Regions from separate parts of the Homo sapiens genome. Here all the other regions are linked to region 3. The links are contacts of gene promoters, found by promoter capture Hi-C in human tissues and cell types (Jung and others, 2019). All regions are on one chromosome and are shown on one strand. Each heading gives the region's core, a stretch centred on a gene start or on the middle of the fragment in contact. The rest is flanking DNA. Distances are from core to core; before and after follow the strand shown.

Region 1 (3,380 bases), core at 399-2,898, 120 kb before region 3:
GTCCTTGGAAGAATTCTAAAAATCCCATATCCTCGCAGGTACCCACATATGAGCCCATCCCTTTTTGCCTTCACCCTCCTATAATTATATTCCTTCTCCTCTCTCTGTCATACAAACATGTGCAATATTGGATACCCTAAAGAAAACCTGTGCTTGACCCCCACATCCTTGTCTTGCCATCTCCCTGTTTCTTGCTTTCCCTTTCACAGCAAATCTTCACTCAGTGTTGTCTTTGCTTACCCACCTCACATTTGCTGCTCACCCCCATGAATCAGGCTTCCTCCACTTCCCTGAGATGGCGCATGTCCATTTATTAACCAATGACTTCCATATTGAGAAATCCAAATGTCACTTCTCTGTAACTTTCTTGATCTCTCAGCAGCACTTGAGACAGATAATCACGCGTCCCTCTTGAAACGCTTTCTTTTCCTGGCTGCCATGGATTGCACTTTTTGATTTTCCTCCTACCTCAATGAGGTTCCTTCTCTTGTTTCTTTTCTCACTCTGCTCCCTTCTCTCAGTCTGTAAATGTTGGTTCACCCTAGAGTTATATCTCGGTCAAATTCTCTACAAACCCTAGAGAACTTCATCCAGTACAATGACTTTGATACTTTTGTTTTCTAATGACTCTAAAATCTGTATTTTCAACCTACACCTCTTCTAGGAACTCCAGACTCACATATCCAGTTGCCCTCCTGACATGTGCAAATGGGTCTTTATAGGCATTGGAAGCCCCACATGGTCAGAAAATAACTCTTGATTCTTCTCCCCGCTAAGTAACATGGCTTCTTCTCTCATCTCCTCCCACTTCTTCTTCCTCCTCATCCCAACTCATGCCCTACACTTTAATCTCACCCAATCTCAGCCATTATCCATGTTCCCTTCTTTCCTCGCCTCTTTAGATCTTTGTGGCTGTAATGTTCCACCCCTCACTTGCCCACCTGGAAACCTCCTCAGCCAAAATTTCAACTCCTTTGCAAAACCTATTCTCACTTCTCCCCCCAACTCATAGTAAGTGTGTGTCCTGGGTGTTTCCATATTACTGTGTATGTGTACGCGTGTGTGTATGTATCTGTGTATGTGTCTCCACATATAAATTGATTGCTGCTAGACTGAAATGTACAAGGTTAGACTCTTTGTAGGAGTCTGAAATATGAAGGACAGTCAGATACAGAATGACAGAGATGCTGAAGTACCTTGTAGATAGGATGGAGGCTAGGCAAGCTTCTCATTGTAGCCACAGCAATAACCTCAGCAATCAAGTGTCCCCTCAGCAGATGTGACTGTAACTGCTGCAGCTGGAAATCAGAGCTCCGGACCCAGGTCTTGGCCAGGAGCCAGGCCATGGGGGGATGCGAGGGCAGAAAGAGCAGAGGTGGGGGACATCCGTGTCAAGGTGGCTGGAGCTAGAGCAGGAGAGAGAGTGGGGGCTGAGAACTTGTGTATCTAAGTCCCTAAAGGAGATCAGTGTCTGGTAGAAAAATACCTGGGCCCTCTCACCTGGATGACCATGGGTAAGAGTCCTCCATCAGGCTGAAGCTTCAGCATGACCAAAGGGGCTGCCACGCATTGCTGCTTAAAAATGATGACATTAGGCTTGACTCCATCCAGCAAGGAGAAATCCACTTCAAACAGAGATCCAGCCTACAGGGCCAGGGGCAGGAATAGAAAACAGGGTTGGAGTTGTTTCTGGAGCTGCCCTTCTCTCATTTTCCAGGGTGGATCCTTCCTCTACCCACCCAAGTCTTTTTTACTTTAAACACCAATCACTTTCTGCAGAACCAAAAAACTGAATGCAAAGTTTTCATGACTGATGTCTTCCTTCAGACTTGGAGCTCCCTGCAGCGAAGTTTCTGGTTTTCCACCACATAAGGCCACTGCATTCTTCACGTATCCCCTCTTCTGCCAGCTTTAGCCAATGTAGCAAAAATATTTCCTTTAGCTACCCATCTCCCCCCAAAAACAGATTCAGCTTTTAGCTCTCCAAGGCTTTGTTTAGTTTTTCTTGCTATTTCTCTCCAGAAGCTTGCGCTTTTCCCTAAGGCTGATATATGTTCAATGAAGAAGGAAGAGAGGAATGTGGAGAAAGAAAAGAAGATACAGGAGGAGATGTTGTAGATCAATGTTCTCAATCAGGGGCAATTCCTCCTCTCCCCAACCCCAGGACATTCAGCACTATCTAGACACATTTTTGGTTGTCACAACCGGGGGGATGCTGCTGGCATCAATGGGTAGAGGCCAGGAATGCTACTAAACACCCTACGATCCACAGGAAAGCCCCCCCCCCCCCCCCCCGCCAGCCAACAGAGAATTATGTGGTGCAGAATGTTAATAGTGCCAACGTTGAGAAACCTTGGGTGTAGATGGAGGAGATGAGAGAAGGGGCTGGAGATGGGAGGAGAAGGGAGGTGGGGGTAATGGCTGGGATGGTGGATGGGCAGAAAGCCCAGCAGCACCTGGAGTTCTTTCTCCAGCTGGGTCTTCAAGTCTTCCATCCCTGGAGGCAGCACCAGGCAGGCTGGGAGCCTTGAAGAACACCTCAGGAGCATGGGGTTTGCACCATTGAGAAACTGGTACCCAAAGAAGGCATCATTCTTCCAAGAATCATAAACCCGCTCTAGGAACATCAATTGGGGAGCACCCTGTGAGCTCTGAGCTCCGAACTCCTAATCCCACTGATCTAATCCTCCATCCCCCTCCTTTTTCAAATCCCTGGGTTGGAAGTCTGTATATTGGTTTTGGGAGGTTGTGAAAACTGACCAGCCAGGACAGTCTTTCCATGTGGGAATATTTTTTTGAAATCTTCCAGCCTTTTCACACAATTTATGAAATCCAGTGTCCCCTTAATGGCCAAGTCCTTCAACCTGTGGAAAGAATGGAGTGCAAGAAGATCAAGGAAGCATCCCACCTTGTGCCCTAGGAAGCAAGTGCCCAGCCTCTACCTGGTACTCACCCTTTTGCTAGGGAGACATTAAAGTCTAAATCCTTATCCTCGAGGAATCGCTCGTCCCTAGGAAGGTCCGGTTGCCTATTCCCTGCTATAGGCAGGATTAACCCATCTTTCCAGGAGCCCCACCTGGAGGAAGAACACACAGGTAGGGGTAAGGAGGCAGGTGGCAGGTTTCTTGGGATCTGGTAGGGGATCAAAGACTTCCTGGGGCTCAACGGTACACCTTCCTTCTTTCCTCGAGCTCCTGTTCCCGATATTTCTTAAACAGGTTCTGGGGGTCATCACTCACGGTCCGGGCTGGGGGAGAGGGACAAGAGCACATGCCCTCCCTGGTCACCCCTCCGCGCTCGGGTCTCCCCATCAGCCACCCTCCCCCTTCACTTCTCCCCATCTCCCTCATCTCTCATTTTCCCTCTTTTACAGTAGCCTC
Region 2 (3,285 bases), core at 482-2,981, 74 kb before region 3:
GAGAAAATATCTCCAAATATCAATATCTGGGGATGCCCCAATAATCACCACCAGACTACTCAGAAAAATTTACAAGCACCACTTGTACACATAGAGCTTCAGGTCTTTCTTTTTATAGCCAGTATTTTCCTGAGGATAGTTCTTGCTCTTGGTCCTTTACTAGTTGTTAACTTGAAACACTGTGAACATTTTCAATGAGCAAAGGCAATCTTTATTTCAGGAATAGTGTTTCTAAGTTTTCTGTGGATATATAGTGCCATTTGTTCTATCTTTCCTGGAGTATACTTTGCAGATGACTCTCAAATCTGTGTGTCTAGCATGGACCTTTCCCTCAGCCCTGCACATTCACACACAACATCTTTTTCTTGAGGTACCTCCAGCTAGTGAAATGCAAATTAAAAAAAAAAAATTAGTCACTGCTCTCCCTCTGACCCCTCATTATTACTGTCACCATATCATTTTCCTCATCTACACTGGTGTTTTGGGTAATATTATTCCCCTAGACATTCATCCTACAAATTTTCAGTCAATTCTGATTCTTCTAACTCTTCTTCATCCTTCCCTCACCACCAAGCCACTGATTCAGCGTTTATTGAATTCCCCACAGCTGTCTTTTCCTTGCCCTTCCCACTCACCTTTCCCTCATTATCATCTCCTATTTGGACTGCTGATGTACTGTCAGAATTGGCCTTCTCACTCCACTACTTTTCTTCAATCTTCAAACTTCTGCCAAGTTAATCTTTCAGATGACCAGCTCTGATCATCATCCTCCCATATCAGAAATCAACATTGGCTCCCTGCCATCACTGCAACCTAAAAATAAACAACAAACAAACAAACACCTTTCCAAATGCAGTGCATAGATTAATCTTCCTATACCTCCTTTTTAATGACAAAAAGTAATACATTTCTGGGAAGACAGTTTCAGTGGAGGCAGCATAGAATTTGGATCTTCCTGGATATCCACATAAAAACAGACAGAACTAGATAGCAAAATCAAATACTCATGAATCACATTTACAAAAAGCTAGACAAGTAATCCCTGCAAACTCCAAAACAGGACAAACCACCAACAGCCATAAGACCTATGTGTTATCCACATCTCACCTGTGCAAGAGAACTTGGAAGAAAACAACAGGACATATGACAAACCTGAAAATGGTAAAATTGTAGTAGGCCAATTTGGGAACAACAGCTGGAACTAGGAGGGAACATGCCCATTTGTTTTAGGCCATTCTCGCACTGCTGTAAAGAAATACCTGAGACTGGCTCATTTACAAGAAAAGAGGTTTAATTGGCTCATGGTTCTACCGGCTGTACAGGAAACATAGTGGCTTCTGCCTCTGGGAAGGCCTCAGGAAGCTTCCAATCATGGAAAAAGGCAAAGGGGGAGCAGGCACATCATATCCTGAAGGCAGGAGCAAGGAAGAGGGGGAGAAGGTGCCTGATATGGTTCGGATCTGTGTCCCCACCTAAATCTTGTGTCAAGTTGTAATTTTCAAATGTCAGAAATGGGACCTGGTTGGAGGTGATTGGCTCATGCGGGTGGATCCTTCGTGAATGGTTTAGCACTATCCGTTGGTACTGTTCTTATGATAGAGTTCTCATGAGATCTGGTTGCTTTAAAGTGTGTGGCACCTCTCCCCTCTCTCTCTCTTCCTCTGGCTCCAGCCATGTGGCTCTCCCTCCACCTTCCATCATGATTTTGTTTCCTGAGGCCTCCCAGAAGCCAAGTAGATGCCAGCATCATACTTCCTGTTCAGCCTGTGGAACCATGAGCCAATTAAATATTTTTTCTTTATAAATTACCCAGTCTCAGGTATTTCTTTATAGCAATGCAAGAACAGACTAAAACAGTGTCGCATACTTTTAAACGACCAGATGTCAGGAGAAGTCACCCACTAGCGCGAGAACAGCACCAAGGAGATGGTGATAAACCATTCATGAGAAATCTCCTCGACAATCCAGTCACCTCCCACCAGGCCCTACCTCCAACAATAGGGATTATAGTTTGATATGATATTTAGAGGGGACACAGATCCAAAGCCTATCACCACTGTAATAGCAAGTAGGTGCCAGGCACAGTTGATAAGATCTAAGGACCTACGGGAACTCCTGAAACTGGTCAGCCAAGGCTGTCTTCCAGGATGGAGCGGAACACTTCAGAGAAACCCTTGGAAAAACTCAACTGAAATAAATGAAAGAAAAGATCCAGAAAAGCACAGGGTGGGGAAACAAAGCCAGGAAATCTCCAAAAGCAGGCCATCATGTTTTTGAACATTACAAGAACAAAAATGGATGGGGATCCAAGAAGTTAGATGTGTTATCTGAACAAGCTTCTTTTTATTAACATGGAAAACAAAATTCACATAAAAATGGCAGTAGAAAAGTAGTGAAGTCAAATCCCATACAAAGTTACTATAAGAAAAGAGACAATAAAGGGCAAAATAATATCATTACACAAAACAAAAGCACAACGGAAAGATGAACAAAAACCAAAGCAAAGGATCAGAAAGAATACTAAAAGCTGTAATTCAAGAAAATGAGGGGGAACTTGGCAAGATAGCCAAATAGGAACAGCTCCGGTCTGCGGCTCCCAGCGAGACCTATGAGGAAGATGGGTGATTTTTGCATTTCCAACTGAGGTACCCAGTTCATCTCATTGGGACTGGTTAGACAGTGGGTGCAGCTCACGAAGGGTGAGCAGAAGCAGGGTGGGGCGTCGTCTCACCTGGGAAGTGCAAGGGGTCAGGAACTCCCTCCCGTAGCCAAGGGAAGCCATGAGGGACTGTGCCATGAAGGACTGTACTATTCAGCCCAGATACTATGCTTTTCCCACGGTTTTTGCAACCAGCAGACCAGGAGATTCTCTCAGGTGCCTACACCACAAGGGCCCTGGGTTTCAAGCATAAAAGTGGGTGGCCATTTGGGCAGACACTGAGCTAGCTGCAGGAGTTTTTTGTTGTTGTTGTTGTACCCCAGTGGCACCTGGAACCCCAGTGAGACAGAACCTTTCACTCCCCTGGAAAGGGGGCTGAAGCAAGGGAGCCAAGGTGGTCTTGCTCAGCGAGTCCCACCCCCCTGGAGACCAGCAAGCTAAGATCCACTGGCTTGAAACTCTTGCTGCCAGCACAGCAGTCTGAAGTCAACCTGAGATGCTCGAGCTTGGTATGGGGAGGGGCATCTGCCATTACTGAGGCTTGAGTAGGCGGTTTTCCCCTCACAGTGTAAACAAAGCCACCAGGAAGTTTGGACTGGGCAGAGCCCGCCACAGTGCAACAAAGC
Region 3 (3,209 bases), core at 256-2,755:
CCTTGACAACCTCCTTCTGCTTTTGAGAAGGTACTTAAACATTTAACAAATGAAGAAATAGGTCTCTTCAATCACTTGCAAACTGCCCAAGGCTAGGGATCTCCACAGCACTCACCACCAAGCAAAGCTCCTAAAAGGTGCTGCAGAAGAGATAAACCAGTTTAAAAGCTCCACGAAGCAAAGACTTGGAATCAACCCAAATGCCCATCAATGATCGACAGGATTAAGAAAATGTGGCACATATACACCATGAAATACTATGCAGCCATAAAAAAGAATGAGTTCATGTCCTTTGCAGGGACATGGATGAAGCTGGAAACCATCATTCTCAGCAAACTAACGCAGGAACAGGAAATCAAACACTGCATGTTCTCACTCATAAGTGGGAGTTGAACAATGAGAACACATGGACACAGGGAGAGGAACATCACACAATGGGGCCTGTCGGGGGGTGGCGGGCAAGGGGAGGGAGAGCATTAGGACAAATACCTAATGCATGCGGGGCTTAAATTCTAGATGACAGGTTGATGGGTGCAGCAAACCACCATGGCACATGTATACCTATGTAACAAACCTGCATGTTCTGCACATGTATCCCAGAACTTAAAGTATAATAAAATAAATAAGTAAATAAAAGCTCCATGAAACCTTTTGGCCTAGCAAGGTTGTAGGTCAGGAAAAGTCATCAGACACTGGTGCTGTAAGGGTGGGGTTGGAAGAATATGTGTGTCTGGAAGAGTTGCTGTAAGGAGACTCCAAATTCTATTTAATGACTGGGAGCCTCCCCTTACCCCCCGAGACCCCATCAGAGGCAGTGTAGCTTAGTGGGCTGCATCCTAGCTATGCCCATTACAGTCGGATGACCTTAGGCAAGTCAATTTCTTTATGTGTGAATCCTCACATCTGTATATGGGGTAATAATAGTGCCTTTCTCTTAGTGTTGGGAGGATTAAGTGAGCTGATACCTGGAAAGCACCGGGAACAGTGAGTGCCTGCCACGTAGTAAACGCTATACAAGAGCTGGCTGCCATTAATAAGAAAGTTGGTGCCGAGGTACTTCTGCAACGTCCCGCCAAGGAAGATAGGAATACAAACACATCCATTTCACAAATACGGAAACGGAGGTGTTGGAAGGTGAATAAAGTTTCCCAGGGAGAACGTGTAGTAAGTGGGGAGATAGGATTCGAACCCAGGGTTGGTCCACCATATCACACAGCTGCCAACCAGGGAGGGAAATCTAAAGATGTCCTACCCACCGCGGGAGGGGGAGTTGGCCTGGCAACTCCTGCAGCCAAAGATGCTTCCCAGAGGGGGTGATGAGAGCAGCCCGCCTCCCCGCCGCGGGCCTCGGGGCATCCCACCGCCACCCCAGCCTGCTCCGGCCCGCATTCTCCCGTTACCCGTTCGCTGAACCCCGCTCGGGCTGCAGGGACTGGAGCGCGCCTACCTGCTCCGCCCGCGCAGCTGTTGCTCCGACGCCAACTCCATGGGCGCCCCGGGTCTGCGCCTTGCTCTGGCCCAAGCTAAATGCCAAGCTCCGGCCGCCTTTGTGACGCGCTGCCGCCTGCAAGGCTCTGTTCCTGCCCCCGGGTCGCAGAGCCCCAAACCTGCAGTTGCCTGGTCAGTGGATCCCATGTGCAGAGGGCGAGACGGGGCCCTGGCCAGGCGTTGGGAGGCGGGAGGCTCGGCCGGCGCTCCGGGTGAGGATGGCACGCCCCCGCCCTTGCTTCTGCGCACAGGGAAGACATTCGGCCCCGAACTTGGGGCTCAAAACGGTTCAGTTCGCTGCCTTTCCCATCCTGACCCAGCCCCGGGTTTTTTCCGAAGCCGCCGCTGGATAGGTTGCATTACTAGGCTTCCCCCAGCCACTCTCCCTGCCCAAAGCCTTCAGAAGCCGCCCCTCTCCCCTTCACCTGGCCCTTATCCACTGTCCCAGCCTCATTTCTTTCCCCCTCCCTGAATGTCTTCTGCTCCCCTTTCCTTGGGCACTGCCCTTATCCTGGGGTCCTGGCTGCTGCCATTCCTGGCCCTGGAAAACCAGTGCGGAACCCAAAGAAAGGTGGAAGAGCAGCTTTTAGAGAGGTGTTTTTATTCTTTGGGGACAAAGCCGGGTTCTGTGGGTGTAGGATTCTCCAGGTTCTCCAGGCTGTAGGGCCCAGAGGCTTAATCAGAATTTTCAGACAAAACTGGAACCTTTCTTTTTTCCCGTTGGTTTATTTGTAGTCCTTGGGCAAACCAATGTCTTTGTTCGAAAGAGGGAAAATAATCCAAACGTTTTTCTTTTAACTTTTTTTTTAGGTTCAGGGGCACATGTGTAGGCTTGCTATATAGGTAAATTGCATGTCACCAGGGTTTGTTGTACAGATTATTTCATCATCCAGATAAAAAGCATAGTACCAGATAGGTAGTTTTTTGATCCTCACCCTCCTTCCATGCTCCGACCTCAGGTAGGCCCCAGTGTCTGCGGTTCCCTTCTTTGTATCCATGTGTACTCAATGTTTAGCTTCTACTTATAAGTGAGAACATGTGGTATTTGGTTTTCTGTTTCTGAGTGAGTTCATTTAGGATAATGGCTTCCAGCTCCATCCACGTTGCTGCACAGGACATGATCCCATTCTTTTTTATGGCTGCATAGTATTCCATGGTGTATATGTGCCACATTTTCTTTTTTTTTTTTTTAAGGCAGAGTCTCGCTTGGTTGCCCAGGCTGGAGTGCAGTGGCAGGATCTCGGCTCACTGCAACCACCACCTTCCAGGTTCAAGCGATTCTCACGCCTAGGCCTCCCAAGTAGCTGGGATGACAGGTGCTCGCCACCACGCCTGGCTAATTTTCGTATTTTTAGCGGAGACGGAGTTTCTCCATGTTGGCCAGGCTGGTCTCAAACTCCTGACCTCAGGTGAACCACCCGCCTCAGCCTCCCAAAGTGCTGGGATTACAGACATGAGCCACCACTCCCTGCCACCACATTTTCTTTATCCTTTCTACCACTGATGGACATTTAGTTTGATTCCCTGACTTTGCGATTGTGTATAGTGCTGCCGTGAACATTTGTGTATATATGTCTTTATGACAGAATGATTTAGATTCCTTTGGGTATATAACCAATAATGGGATTGCTGAGTCAAATGGTAATTCTGTTTAATCATGTCCCATTTGTCAATTTTTGCTTTCGTTACAATTATTTTTGGGATCTTTGTCATGAAATCTT

Evidence for each region. The method cuts DNA at HindIII sites, captures the fragments that hold promoters and counts their contacts. A contact is called where the count stands out against the background at its distance.
Region 1: a fragment that was not itself captured here is called in contact with the fragment with the promoter of FBXO39 in region 3 in 2 of the 25 tissues and cell types used here (mesenchymal stem cells and spleen).
Region 2: a contact is called between a fragment that was not itself captured here and the fragment with the promoter of FBXO39 in region 3, in 2 of the 25 tissues and cell types used here (H1 embryonic stem cells and dorsolateral prefrontal cortex).

Annotation. Positions count from the first base shown.
Region 1 is chr17:6,894,580-6,897,959 of GRCh38, reverse strand. It overlaps LOC124903908 (a long non-coding RNA gene), which reads left to right and starts at 3,014. Exons shown (of 2, transcript XR_007065597.1): 1 at 3,014-3,095. It also overlaps the pseudogene ALOX12P2. RefSeq lists an enhancer at 3,279-3,380. The HindIII fragment of the contact is 4,243 bases long and covers 1-3,380 here.
Region 2 is chr17:6,848,930-6,852,214 of GRCh38, reverse strand. No RefSeq gene overlaps it. Among named protein-coding and RNA genes, the nearest start is that of TEKT1, 19 kb to the right of the region's middle. The HindIII fragment of the contact is 4,954 bases long and covers 1-3,285 here.
Region 3 is chr17:6,774,511-6,777,719 of GRCh38, reverse strand. It overlaps FBXO39 (F-box protein 39), which reads right to left and starts at 1,505. Exons shown (of 4, transcript NM_153230.3): 1 at 1,448-1,505. It overlaps XAF1 (XIAP associated factor 1), which reads right to left. Exons shown (of 7, transcript NM_017523.5): 7 at 2,073-3,209. LOC124903905 (a long non-coding RNA gene) reads left to right here and starts at 1,610. Exons shown (of 3, transcript XR_007065594.1): 1 at 1,610-1,700. The HindIII fragment of the contact is 13,622 bases long and covers 1-3,209 here.